4 separate regions of the Homo sapiens genome follow, and regions 2, 3 and 4 are each linked to region 1. Evidence: promoter capture Hi-C in 16 types of primary human blood cells and fetal thymus (Javierre and others, 2016). All regions are on one chromosome and are shown on one strand. Each heading gives the region's core, a stretch centred on a gene start or on the middle of the fragment in contact. The rest is flanking DNA. Distances are from core to core; before and after follow the strand shown. Region 1 holds the start of GATA6-AS1 (GATA6 antisense RNA 1 (head to head)). Region 2 has its middle 19 kb from the start of CTAGE1. Region 3 has its middle 37 kb from the start of CTAGE1. Region 4 has its middle 55 kb from the start of CTAGE1.

Evidence for each region. Contacts are between HindIII fragments. The CHiCAGO score rates a contact against its expected background, and 5 or more counts as called.
Region 2: a contact is called between a fragment that was not itself captured here and the fragment with the promoter of GATA6-AS1 in region 1, in 1 of 17 cell types (endothelial precursors). The highest score is 5.0, in endothelial precursors.
Region 3: a fragment that was not itself captured here is called in contact with the fragment with the promoter of GATA6-AS1 in region 1 in 1 of 17 cell types (total CD8 T cells); the score reaches 5.6 in total CD8 T cells.
Region 4: a contact is called between a fragment that was not itself captured here and the fragment with the promoter of GATA6-AS1 in region 1, in 2 of 17 cell types (naive CD8 T cells and total CD8 T cells). The highest score is 6.0, in naive CD8 T cells.

Annotation. Positions count from the first base shown.
Region 1 is chr18:22,166,690-22,170,217 of GRCh38, reverse strand. GATA6-AS1 (GATA6 antisense RNA 1 (head to head)) reads left to right here and starts at 1,250. Exons shown (of 2, transcript NR_102763.1): 1 at 1,250-1,551; 2 at 1,835-3,320. It overlaps GATA6 (GATA binding protein 6), which reads right to left and starts at 629. Exons shown (of 7, transcript NM_005257.6): 1 at 536-629. RefSeq lists an enhancer at 2,481-2,984. The HindIII fragment of the contact is 8,900 bases long and covers 1-3,528 here.
Region 2 is chr18:22,397,479-22,401,006 of GRCh38, reverse strand. No RefSeq gene overlaps it. Among named protein-coding and RNA genes, the nearest start is that of CTAGE1, 19 kb to the left of the region's middle. The HindIII fragment of the contact is 2,683 bases long and covers 586-3,268 here.
Region 3 is chr18:22,378,817-22,382,344 of GRCh38, reverse strand. No RefSeq gene overlaps it. Among named protein-coding and RNA genes, the nearest start is that of CTAGE1, 37 kb to the left of the region's middle. The HindIII fragment of the contact is 5,755 bases long and covers 1-3,528 here.
Region 4 is chr18:22,361,161-22,364,688 of GRCh38, reverse strand. No RefSeq gene overlaps it. Among named protein-coding and RNA genes, the nearest start is that of CTAGE1, 55 kb to the left of the region's middle. The HindIII fragment of the contact is 8,909 bases long and covers 1-3,528 here.

The sequences.
Region 1 (3,528 bases), core at 1-2,500:
GAGAAAAGGAGGGGGAACGCAACGGGCTGGGGAGGGGGGAGCGTGAGACCGCCCCAGAGCCGAGGCGACCCCAAATGGGAGAGCAGGAAGAATGACAGGGAGACTCGGAGCGAGTGGGGGAGGGAGGTGAAATGCAGCCGGGCTGGCCTCCTCCAGGCTGCTCTTCCAAATCGCCTCGGCTCATCGGAGATTACCACACTAAAATTAATGCCCACACACAGACCTGGCTAGATAGCAAGAAAGAAGTTTCTCTGCCTGCCTAACTACCGGCTCCCGCCCCTTTGCGCCGAGATAACTCGGAGATAAGGCTGCGCGCAGATAAGCGCTTCGAGGAGAGAAAAAGAGACTAGAAGTTGGTCCGCGGTGTCCCGGGAGCCTGGGAGCCGCCTCAGCCCGCCCGGAGGGAAGGAGGGAAACACCGTCGGAGCCGACCGCGGCCTGGAGAGGGCCGGAGAGCCGGAGGCCAGGGGCCCGCGACGAGTAGGGGTGGAGGGGAGGAAAGCGGGGAGATCGCGCGAGGAGGAAGCAGCCGAACCTCGGGCGGGCGCTGCGCATGGAGAACGGCCGCGGCGGAGGGTGCTCCCAGGCGCGGAGAGAAGCCGAGGGCGCCAGCGGGCGAGCGCGAGTCCGGGGTCTGCGCCGCGCTGCTGGTGAATAAAAAGGAGAGAGGAGGCGCCTCTTACTGCTCTGCCGGAAAACTGCAGCCTGGGCTCCTGATTGGACTCACCGAGCCCTAAACAAACAGCGCTCGCCGAAGGGTGCCAGGCTGTGGGTCGGAACTGCGCTCAGCGAGCAGCTGGGCGCTGGAGGTGAAGAGGAGGAGGAGGGATCGAGGGGAGGAGAGAAAAGAGGGTGGGGAGGGGACGGCGAGGGGGGAGGGGAGCGCGCCGCCCAGGCAGACAATGAGAGCCGCGCTGCCTGCGGGCGTGGGCTGAGCCGCAAGCCCTGTCCCCGGAGTGGGGGCGAGTCCACCCGGGGGGCACCGAGCCCAGGGACCCCGGGGGAGGGGCGGAGGCCACAGAACGCCTGACCTGGCTAGCGACCCGCACCCATCCAGCGGCGGTGCACCCTCCCGCTCCCGCAGTCGCACACACACACCCACACGAGGGAGGGGGAGGGAGCCTTGGCACGGGAGGAGTTGGCAGTGCACAGTCCCGCGCCGCCGCCGCGGCGGGAGGGGCGCTCCAGACCTTGGGTCAGCACGCCCCCAGAAGGAAGGGGGAACGTGCTCTGCGCCCCCCCGCCCCCCAACCCCCGCCTAGCCCCTTCACAGCAAATGCGCTTTTTGCCCTGAAGTTGTGTGAGACCGACCTTAAACTTTCTCCGACCCTATCTCGGGATGCTACGGCTCAGGTCGTGGTGGTTTCGGGAACCTCAAGACAACATTCCCCAGCTGACCTTTGGGAACTTTAACTCGGGTCGTCATGTACGGAAAGGTAGTCTATGGGGTACGCAGAATGGAAAAGGGCTTCCACATCAGTCGTGTCCGAGGACGCTCTCCAACTTTTGATGTCCCTGGAGAGTTTCTGATATTTCCCTGGAGAGTTTCAGGTAAGTCACAGATAAGTCACTGCGAAGAGGGGGTGTCACCTTCCCTGGACCCAGCGCTAAATGCTGCTTCCCCACCCCCACGTTCATATACACACCCCCTCTTCGCTCCCTCCAAACAGTTATCACAACTCTGTACAAACTGATACGGTCCCTAGCGGGCAAAAGGGACTGGAAATGAACGTCGCGGGGTTATCAGCGCCGATCTGTCAGCGGCAACTCGCGCGGCCGCAGGCTCGTCCGCTGCAGGAGCCGTGATATATGTCTCGCTCCCTTTCGCTTACAGAAAGGATTTCTTCCGACAGACGTGACCCCAGAAGGCTGCCGAGGGAGACTTTAGGACAAGAGGCGTTGTTTTTGTGAGAATGAATTTTTATACTTTACCCCGACCCCACCCCCTACCCCCCGCCCAGGTAAATCCAAGTAAATGATTTTCTGAAGGTCGGTCTCCTAGAAAGCGTTTAGGCTCTGGTTTTTTGTTTTGTTTCTATTTTCGTGTTTTCCCAGTTAGGGAAGGAAGAGGAGCCTGTGCAGAGTTGAACTGGGGTGGAGAGGTGCCTTGTAAAGTATGGTTTCCAGAGATGGTGAGACCTCGTAGCTAAGCGTTGTTTCCTCTGCACGTAACTGTGAGTTGTGAACTTGTGGCTCCTGGGGGAGCGGGACAGGGCCTGGCAGTGCGGGGGAGGGGGCAAGGAATTCAGGAAGTTGGCGAGAATTCTTCGTTTTTCATTCTTCGTTGTAAATTGCTTCTAAACACTTCTGAATTTTAAATTGCTACCGAGAAGGTCCAGAAACCGTTCTCATCCAATTTAGTCACTTTTATTACGTTCCACTTTGCCTCCCCCAATCACTGCGGCGGCTCCCAGTTTCAGCGTGGCCGCATTTGGAAAAGGCTGAAGGTAGAAAACTCTGGAATGGAGAGGCTGGCGACTGGAGCAGGATCCAGGGGCTTTAAATTTTAACCTGAATGCGATCGAATGCGCGACTCCCAGAAGAGATAGCCAGGCGTCCGCCCGGCCGCTCAACCCCCGCCAGGACTCGGAATGCCTTGCTTTTGGTTCTTTTCGTGAGTTCCGACCAAATGTTTAAGTGGACTGGGTTTTGCAGAAGCTCATTTGTAAGCACTGACGGAAATGGGTTGTGGGCATTTGATTTCCTTTGATTCCAACGTTTTGAAATAATGTTTCTCGGATTTGCTATTCGAAGCAATTTTCTAAAAACTCATATCTTATTTGCTAAAAATAAACTCTTTGGCTCAGTTTGTGTCCAGGCTGTGTACGGCCTCCAACCCTGAGCCCCGAGGAGATCGAGCCCTGGCGCGAGCCTGATCTCTGTCCTGTGTGTTTCTTTGTATTTGCAAGTACAAGGATGTCTGCGTGGATATCCCTGGACACTCGATACCCCCCGGGGACCTGCTTTTCCCGCAGCTCCGCAGACGCGGCGGGAGGGCGCGCTGGCCCCGGCGCTGCTGGGACAGAGGTGAGCAGCGGGGTGGACATTGACCGATTCGACAACGTTCGGGCTCTAAGGGCTCGGGAAGGGACCCGGCATTTTACCCTCCAGATTCCCAATCTATTTTTAAAAATAATGTTCAAAACATATGGGAAAAATAAGTGATTGCTCCTTTTCATGGTCACAGATTGTATTTATTTTTTCAGACTGGTTTTCCAACCTAACGAGGGAATGGGTAGTGAATGTTGTTGTTGTTGTTGTTGTTTATGTTGGTTAATTTCGAAATAAAACTGTTTAACTCGTACAGTTGATTCAGACAGAAAACCAGGCTGCCTGACGTCTCCAATGTGCCTTTTCCCCAATGCATCTTTGGCGCTAGGGACCGCTCTGGGGAAGACAAGCATGTTTTCAAAGCCACTCCCATGAGCCCCAGACCCGCGCGTGGAGCTTCCTGGGCGCGCCCCAGCTGGTCTGGAAGGCCGGCAAATTAGGAAGTTTGGAGGGAAGAGGTGCACCCCAAACTAGGGA
Region 2 (3,528 bases), core at 678-3,177, 230 kb before region 1:
AGATTCCCAAAGGGTGACACCAACTGACACTCCACAAATGTCTGAAGATCTGAAGTTCCACATCCTCATCAGTACTTGATATCGATTACATTATATGATATTTCACTATTTCTGACCTGCAAAGATTGCAGTTTCATATGGTCCAATAAATTTATTTCATTTTAATTTTTCTTCTAAGTGTGTAATAAAATCAATTGAGGATTTAATTTGCATTTTCTTAATGACGAAGGATGTTGAGCACCCTTTCATTTGTTTATTAGTATATCCTCTTTTTTGAAGTACCTGTTCAAGGTTTTTTTCTATTTTTTTATGGGATTAACTGCCTTTTTTGCCACTAATTTGTAGGAATGAACACACACACACACACACACACACAGAGCCATGCTGGATACAAGCTCTATGTCACCACACATGTGTACAGACGTCTTCTCCCACTCTGGGACTTTTCCTTTCCACTTCCTTAATGGTACATCTTAATAAAGAAAAGTTATTACTTTTAGTATAATTCAATTTACCCATTTTAACCTTTACAGTTGTCAACACTTCTTTGCCTACCCCAAGATCATGTAGCTGTTCTTAAAAGCTTTGTTATTTTGCTTTTCACATTTAGATAAATGATGCACTTGGAATTGATTTTTTATGTATGATATGAGTAGGAGTCAGGATTCATCCTGGTCCCAAGTGGGTACCCAACTGACCTGGATGTTCATTGAAAAGGCAGTGGGTTGCAGAGTTTGGCTTGCATAGCTCTCACTGGGAGGCAGCACGGTGTCATCGGAGGAGTTCCTACTGGGCTCTAGTCCCAACTCTGCTACCAGCTCACTGGTTCTGTGACCCTGGGCAGGTCACCACAGCTGTCTCTGTTTACCCATATGTAAAATGAGGTTAAATTAGATCATCTTCATTGTTCCTTGCAGACGCATAAGATCAGGCAGAAGTGATGTCAGACTCCAAATATGACATGATTACTTCTGGGACCTCAGGGAGAGTATTTAACTTATCAGAGTCCCAATTTCCTTACCTAAAAGATGGGAGCAATTGTGCCCATATCTAGGGCTGCTGAAAAACAAGAAAGAAGATGTACATGAAGTTCTGTACTTGGCACATTATGTTGTTCAACAAAAGGTAACACTTGTGGTTGTTAATAGTCATTCTGGAAATATTAAGGAGAATTTGCCTTTATTTAATTTCAGTAAAAATGTAATTGGTGTCTCTAAACTTAATTACTAATTCAAATTTGTTTATGTTTGCTTGGCATGAAAGTTAAGTAGCCCTGTGAGGAGAACTTTGGTTTTGCCCCAACTTCTTTAGTCCTAAGAGATACTGTCCTGTAAAGAAGGCTAAAAATAAAGACAGAAGTTACACGGATATAAAATCAGCTTTCTCGAAATTGCTAACCATTAACCTTGAATTTAAAAGTTTTTCCTAAACACTTGTAGAACCCAGGAAAGAATGGAATGTCACAATTATACAGCCACGATGATAGTTGTCCGTGATGGATTATTAGTCTGAAATTATTAACTTTCCACAGACAAACCCAGGATTTCCCTGATTTCCTGACCCCCCGCCATTTAAGGTAGTACCCCTCCCTCATTCTTGTCTCACTCTGTTTTTCTTCATAGCAATTACAACTCCCTGACATATTTTCCTGTCTTTTTGTTAATTGTCTGTTTTCCCTTCAACTAGAACGTTAGCTCCATGGGAGCAGGAGCTTTGTTTAATTTACCTTGTATCTCAGCACCTAGAAGAATGCCTGGTACATGGCAGACATTCAGTAAGTATTGTGGAATAAATGAATGAAGGCAAAGTAGGAACCACATAAAATATGTATCAAAAGTAGTAATTATGTTCAATTAGGTCCATGCTACATTTAACATGACATAGAAATCAATAATGTATTTGGACTGCAGCACCTCTGTCAACCCCAAACTCCAATTCTTATAGATGTTCAGTAATAACACTACCACAAAAATATTAGCTCTGTTAATAATCAACACATTTTTCATAAGTGTGCCTTTGGGAACTATGAGAAGGAAATTGATATTTCCCACATATATATGCTGTCATTGTTTTTTTAAAGAGAAACTCTTCAATAAACACAATTACCGAAGGAGAAAATTATTTAAAAAGCTGGGTGTTTTGCAAATAAAAGTAGACATGGAAATCATGTTTTTATTATAAACAAATATTAAGTTTTACGTGTTGACTATTAAAAAGTTATTCAGTTTTTCCTTTACCAAAATAAATTGTTAATTAAGATAGACAAAAACCAGGAAACATTGAAGTTAGTCATTTAATTTCCTCACTTATTCAGAGCTGCCTGGAGTCATTTCCTGCAGGAATTCCATGTCTTCCCATTGAAGTGTTTCAGCAGCTGGTAACAAAATCATCCACACAGGCGGTGGGTGACACTCCAGGCTCCGATTGCAAATCAGGTTTTTATACTCACAATGGAACCAGATCGAGTTTAGAAATAAATCTAAATTCCTTCTAGAATGCTGTTTCTGCATTGCTCTAAGGGGGAATTTGGTCCAGTGGGAGGAATTGTAGACAAGGAAACCTGATTTCTACATTTGGCTCAGCACTAATTGTGTGACCTTAAATTTAACCTCCTGTGCACTAATAGCCTCGTCTATGTAAGGGTAATAACATTTAAATTTTACCTACCAAATTGTTTCTAAGATGGAAGAATCAGCCAAACTCAGCATGCAGCTATTTTTGTAGAAGTGCATGACTCCAATATATACTATTAATTTTTTTATTTTTAATTTTTAATTTTCTTAATATTTTTTGAGATGAAGTTTCACTCTTGTTGCCTAGGCTGGAGTGCAGTGGCACAATCTCAGCTCACTGCAACCTCTGCCTCCCTGGTTCAAGTGATTCTCCTCCTGCCTCAGCCTCCTGAATAGCTGGGATTTACAGGTGTCCACCACCACACCCACTTCACTTCTGTATTTTCAGTAGATACAGGGTTTCACCATGTTGGCCAGGCTGGTCTCAAACTCCTGACCTCAGGTGATCCACCCACCTAGGCCTCCCAAAGTGCTGGGACCACCGTGCCCAGCCCATATAAATTATTAATGACAACAACACTCAAGTCTTAAGAATAGAGACCTTGTCCAATAGTTTTTAGGATAGAGACCTTCATAGGATTAAACCGTGGCCAAAGCAATGCAGTAGATGACCTGGAAATCAGATAAAACTATGTCTTTTGCAGTATCATAAGAAAATTGGTAACTGTTCTTTACAGATCTGAAATGTACAAGCTTTTTTCTCATTCCTAAGTTGCTTATGTGGGAAACAGAAGCCAGTAAGTAGATCACACCATTAATTTTTGGGAAGAATAGCAAGGGATTTGATTAAACACACCCAGTGTAACTATACCGGGGGTGGGGGTGTGGGAGGATGGAACTAAAGTTCTGTAGATTGAGTGTTTGCATGCCCTAAAATTCATATGTTGAAATCCCAACCCGCTATGTGATGCACTGGGAGGTGGGACTCTTGGGAGGTGATCAGGTCACGAGGGGC
Region 3 (3,528 bases), core at 630-3,129, 210 kb before region 1:
GCATGTGGAGAAATACTATCCACTGTTTTATCCCAAGTATCACTTGGAGTATGTGGGTATATAATAAGCTGGAAATAAGAATTATCTTAACAAACAGCAATAAAATTTCTCTTAGAGACTGTACTATATTTGCTTAGGAAGACACTTCATTAAATATCTTGGGGTGGAGGTATGAGCCTGAAAGCAAGGTCTACTGGAGGATGAAAACATAAGGGAATAGCTAGCTAGCTCTGTATTAGAAATAAAGAGGAATTATGGATGAGGAAAAGCAATGAAGAAGGAACGTAGAAAGGAATCGGAGGGAACTGCCAAGCACCATCAAGTATGGCCCCAGGACTTCCAGATATCTTAAAGCAGAGCTTCTCAACAAAGACACATAGAGAGGATAACTCATTTGGGGAGGGCTGTCCTGTGCCTTGCAGCATCCTTGGTCTCTACTATCTTAAATGACAGTAGCACTTGTAACAACCAAAAATGTTGTAACAATCAAAAGCGTCTCTAGTTGTTGCCAAATGTCCTTCGAGTGGCAAAATCACCCCTGTTGAGAACCCTCCCTCCTCAAATGCCCTAAACCTTAAGTGGAGTCTACCAGATATGCAAATATTTTATATAAGTTGTTTCTCTTGGGATATGCAAGGAAGGGGCAAATTCCACAACTGGGGTCAGTGCAAGTCACAGAGTAGAGAGCAAGAGTCCAGCAGAAGGAGGAAGGAAGAGCCCAAAGTGGCCACCTTCCCCTCACCTCCCAAACCCCAGAAATTCATGTAGCTTGCAGTGGGCATTGTGTGTTTATCTTGAATGTGAAAAGGGGAGGGAGGCGAACTAAATTTCCAAGATTTAAAGAGACAGGGAGAATATAAATAGATACATACATAAAGTAAGAAGGCATAGGATAATACACGTTAAGGCTTCCTCCCCAACGTCCATGCCATCTCTTAACACCTCCACCATTGGGTGAAGACATGGTGTTTGGGTGCATCCTCCCGCCCCTACCTCCCAAGGATCCAAGTTGTTCAAACAGGGTATTCTCGGGTCCCTTGTTTTAGTGATTAGTTCACAAGTGGGCCAATCCAAGTAGAGCTCAGGACTCTTATGCAAAAGCTATGAGAAGTGGGGCTCTTCCTCCCTGTGAAGATGGATGTGAGAGCCTGAATCCTAGTCTTGTTGCCAGAAGGGAAGCCAGCCCGAGAATAAAGCCAATCAATATACAAGAGTCACTAGAGAACGATGAAGAAACTGAGCAGGAGGTCTAATCAAGCCAGGCATGAAACCTACCCTGCCACTGAATGTTTCAAGTATATAAGCCAAAAAAGTTCCACTTCTTGTTTAAGCAAGTGTGAACTGGGTTTTCTGTTACAGAAGGCCTTCTCACTGATTAACATACTGATAGATAGGATATATTAAATATATATATTCACACATACACGTAATTTAAAGGACTAGATCAAAAAACATCAAAAATTAACAGTGATGTAGATTGTAGGAGTGTGGGCAACTTTAATTTCCCCTTTATGCTTATCTGAATTGTCTATAATAAATATTCATTAGTTTCACTAGCAGAAAGAAATCATTCATAATAATGTAGCATTTATGGGTGAAGTGGCATGGTTCTGGGATTTATTTTAAACTACCTTAGCAAAAAGCAAAGGTTGGAGGGAGATAGATTGAACAAATTTAGCAAGATATCCATATTGATATTGATGCTAGGTGACAGGGACATAAGGTTCATTGTACTATTCTGGCTTTCATAATTTTGAAAATTCACATAATAAAATGATGAAAGAAGGAAGGAAAGAAGGAGGGAGGGAGGGAAGGAGGGAGGGAGCGAGAGAGGGAGGGTGAATCTGCAGAGGTTGTTCTAATTACCATTGCTGGCTTTGCACTGTGCTGCATCTGTCCCAATGGGTCCTGAGTGTGCCCGTCCATTGCCTGGCGACTACAAGTTGGTGAACGCATCCTTCATAACTTCTCTGTCCTTCATCTGGATTGCACTGCTTTGGAGGTGGCTGTGAAACCTGTTGAACATCAACGCACTGCTCAGCAACCTCCCCACCCACCCCGCTCCATCACCACTGACAAAATGTGTATATTTATATTTGTATCAACTCTGCAAAAAAAAAATATATATATACATATATATATCTCTCTTCAATGTTGGACTTGTTGTCTTATTTTACAGTAGCATTTGAAATAATGTCAGATGTCCCCACTGTGACGGGGAGCTTCCATGAATGAGATTAATTCCGTGAATTGGATAAAATAAATCCAGACATTACTGAAATTAACTAATTTTCTTTATAACGCATCTGATGACAGTGATGAAAATCTGGCATCATTTAACTGTGTGCAAAGTTCTTTTCCTGCAAATGGAGACAATTCATTTAGAGTACAGCTTCATTTTCTTACATACAAAGAAAATTTAGAATGAAAAGGATTAAGTGGATTTAGAAAAACAGATACGTAGTCAAAGTGAGAAATTATGCTTCACGGGGTAATATGTAACCTTCCTGCTGTAGGTTCATGTGTTGAATCATTGAGACTACTTGTTATTTGTCTTTTAAGTTTGCATAACCAATTGCTACAAACATGGTGGCTTAAAAGAACAGAATTTATTCTTACAGTTCTGGAGGCCAGAAGTCCAAAATCAAAGTGTCCACAGGGCCACACTCCCACTGAAGGCTCTGGGTGACAATCGCTCCTTGCTCCTTCCAGCTTCTGGTGGCTGTCAGCTTTGCTTGTGGCCACAGCACTCCATCTCCATCTTCATCTTCATATGGCCTTCTCCTCCATGTCTCTGTCTCCTCTTCTCTGTCTTAGAATGACACTTGTCATAGGATTTAGGGCTCACCTGGATCATCCAGAATGATTTCATCTTGAGATCCTTAATTACATCTGCAGGTAAGACCTCTTTTTAAAAATTAGGTCACTTTCACAGGTTCTGAGTATACATACATTTTGGGTGGACTACCATTCAACCCACTACACTACTTAACTACTAACTTGGAAGCAGATGGTAACATTTCTTCAGCAGTTTTGACAATGTTACCACTGTAGCACTTTGAATGCCAACCAGTAGTTTGTGTCACTTAACCTTTCAACATCAACTTTCTTAAGAAATAGAAACTCAGCACTTAATTTTTTATTAATCATGCACTTAATTTTTAACCTCCTTGCTGCTGAAAGCATTTAATGTAAAATTTTAGAGAAATATTAACAAATAAAAATAAAGCAATATTTGTGATGCCCCCCATACAGTAAGTAACAAGATTACTCTAACAAGAGCATTTGGACTATGCCCTACAGACCGACTGCTCAGATCCTATTTCCCCCACATTTTTTACACACACATAACCTAAAATCTGCTTTATTTCCATTGGATGGTGCAGACTAATGGTCTACCAGCTTTGCACATCTCATAAACTGCAGCTGGAGCCATGGCACAACTAGATGGCACACCAAGTGACCAGCAGGGGCAGTCACATCAAATACCTCCCTAGATCTGAAGGAATGAGCTGTTCTGAGCTGCTC
Region 4 (3,528 bases), core at 612-3,111, 190 kb before region 1:
TGCAGTTTTCATTCTGATGTGGCAAGGTGTGGATTTGGATTTATATTTACAGGAAGCCCTTGAATAATGTGGGGGTTGGGGCACTGGCTCCCCAACCCCCTGCAGTTGAAAATATGCCTATGACTTTTGACTCCTCAGAAACTTAACTACTAATAGCCTACTGTTGACCAGAAGCCTTACCAATAACATACACAGCTGAACACATGTTTTGTATATGTGTTACATACTGTATTCTTACAATAAAGTAAGCTACAGAAAAAAGTTATTAAAAATCATAAGGAAGAGAAAATATATTTACTATTCATTAAGTGGAAGTGGATCTCATAAAGGTCTTCATTTTTATCATCTTCATGTTGAGTAGCAGAAGAGGAGGAAGAGGAGGGGTTGGTCTTGCTGTGTCAGGGGTGGCAGAGGCGGAAGAGGAGGAGGAGGTGGAAGGGGAGGCAGGCACACTTAGCATAAGTTTTATTGAGAAAAATCTGCATGTAAGTGGACCCACACAGTTCAAACCCATGTTGTCCAAGGGTCAGCTGTATATTCTGCTTGAAACTCATTCATTCACTTGATATATACTTATTGTGCCCCTACTACTTGCTAGATCCAGGCACTAGGGATCAGCAGAGAGCAAATCAGACAAAGTCCCTGTGTTCATGCAGCTTACCTTCTGGTGGGAGGAAATGGAAATTAACTAACAGTCTCATGGAAATACATTATGTCTGATAATGATAAGAGCTATGGAAAAAAATAAATTAGGACATGGGGGTAGTGGATGCTGGGAGAGTACTATGTATAAGGTGGTCAGGAGGTCTTTTTTGATAAGCTGATATTTGAGCAGATACCTGAAGAAAATGAGGACACCAACTATCTAAATATCTGGGGAAAGAGCATTGCGGCAGAGGATACAGCACAAGCACGAGCCTGGAGGTCAGAGAATGCCTGCTGTGCTCAAGGAAGAGCATAGAAGCCAATGTGTCTGGACAGGAGTAGTGAGAGGGAGAATGGATCAGGTCAGACACGTGGAGGGGTGAGTAATGCACACGGATCCTCCAGTCCATTGCAAAGACTTTGGAAAGGCTCTGAGAAACCACTAAACAGTCTTAAATAATAGAGTATGACATTTGTCTAAAAGGCTCATTGTGACTGTTGCGCAGAGAACAGACATTTTATTGTGTAGGGATGCAAGTAGGAAGGACAGCAGAATGACCAGTTGTAGACTACTGCCATGGTCCAGAGGAAAGATGATGGAGGAAAGATGACAGAACATGGCAGTAGTGATGGAGGCATTGAGAAATGGTCAAAGTCTGGGTATCTTTTCGGGATAGAACTGGCGACATTTGCTGAATTGGATATGGGGTATGAGATAGAGAAGATACAAGCATCACATGAAATTCTTTGAACCAAATAACTGAAAGAATGAAAAAAATCTTTTTGTGACATGGGCAATTGTTAAGAACAGTTTAGGTGGAGGGAGAGATGCAATGTCAGGGGTTTTCCTTTGAAGACAGTGAGTTTGAGATGTCTGTCAGATGGTAAAATGGAGCTGTGGTATAGGAGGCTGGATATGGGAATTTGAATTTCAGAGAAGAGGTCCAGGCTGGAGAGAGCAATGTGGGAGTTGTTAGCAGTAGGACTCACAGCCACAGGACTGGGAGGAGATTGCCTTAGAGAGTAAGGAAGGAGCCTACATCCTCAAAAACTTCATGTTTAAGGTCCACAGGTGAAAAGGAACCAACAAGGAAACTGAAAAGGAACAATCAGAACAGTATGAGGAGAACCCAGAGAAAGTGGTCCCTAGAAGCCAAGAGAAGAAAACGTTTCCAAGAGGAGAAATCACACAACTCTGTCCAATGCTGCCAGTTGCACATCATGAAGATGGAGAATCGGCCACTGGACTTGGCAATGTGGGCAGCCTCAGTAACCGTAATAAACTGTTCCTATGTGGTGACCAGGATAAAATCCTGATTAGAGGGGTTTTGAAAAAGAATAAGAGCAGAGAAAGTATACATGGGGACTTTAGGCAACTCTGAATGAGTGTTGCTGTGAAAGGGAGCAGAGGAATGGAGTAGTATCTGGAGCAGAGTAGCAGACAAGGGAAGTTTGCTTTATTTTACTATGACAAGTTGTTGCAATATCTTTTCTTGCTGATGATAATAACATAATTGAGAGGAAAAAAACTGATTGAGAGAAGGAGAGAGACTGCAATTGCTGGAGTGTGCCTCTTTATTCTGCGGACTCAAATTTTTCTTCGTTTCTAGAAAATTATCAGCCTCCTAGCCTTCCAACATTACATTTCCCCAATTCTCTGAATATCTTCATTCCAGAACTCTCATTTGGATTTGTATTGGGTCTCTTTAGTCTATCAGGCAAATCACAAAAACTCCCTTCAAATTTCCACTTCCTTATCTCTCTGTACTATATTCTGGGTGATTTCTTCAGCTCTACCTTTTGATTCAATAATTCTGCCTTCGATTATGACTAGTTTGTTCTTTGACCCATCTACTGAATTCTAAATGTCAATATTTTTCCTTTTCACAATTTCTATTTTGTTCTTTTTCAAATCTGCTTATTCTTTTATTAGAAGGTCATTTGCTTGTCATATAATTTCTATCATTTATTTCTATTCATTTTCAGAATTTCTATTTTATGTCTCTTTTGGATCGTTCTGTTTTCTCACAGTCTTGGTTACTGTGTTCCCATTTATTGCATCTGCTGACTCTACACCACGGTGGGTTTGTCCTTCATATAGTTTGCAATTTATTTTAGCTCATCTTCAGCAAAAGGTGTTTTCCAGTAGAAGTCCCATGTACCCTTACTTGTGGAAAGATCTCTTCAGATACATTTTTATCTTTGCTTCTATTAAATCCCAAGTTTTTGGTCTGACCCAAAGATATTTGTTTGTATAGTTCCTTTACAAAGACCGGTAGCCCTTTGAGTATCTGGAATTGAGGGTCTGAGTCCCAGCCCTCAAGCCATGCCTTGTCAAGATTAAGCATTAAACTCCCAGCCCGCAGTTCCTGAGACCTAAGCCCATGGCACACCTCAGCATCAACTGTAGCGCTCCCTTCTAAGTTGCAGTTTTCTTTTTGTTTGTGAAACCCACAACTTTCCCTTTCTTGCTTGCTTGAGTATATACTTTAAAGTGTTTTCTTGACACTCTTTACATTTAATATGTTTATGTATTTGCAATAGGAAACATGTCCACATAAGGTCGGTCTATCAAATATGGTAATCTCCAAAGTTCAGCATGATGTACTGGTCCCAGAACACTTTGACTGAACTCAAAATTGAAGCTGGCCTCAAAATCCTTCTCAACCTAAGAAACAACTACCATTGCGTCAGAGTTGGCATGGGAAATGAAAACTTTTCCCATCCTTGTGATGCTACACCAAAAACAATTACTATTTTGTCTTTGGGCAATTAAGAAAAGATTCATTAGCAGATCTCCATCAATTCATAGAGAGAATTCCTGATATCCAACCCTTGGGTATATTTCCTAAAACTAGAGGAGTATTTAAAGGAGGATCAAAA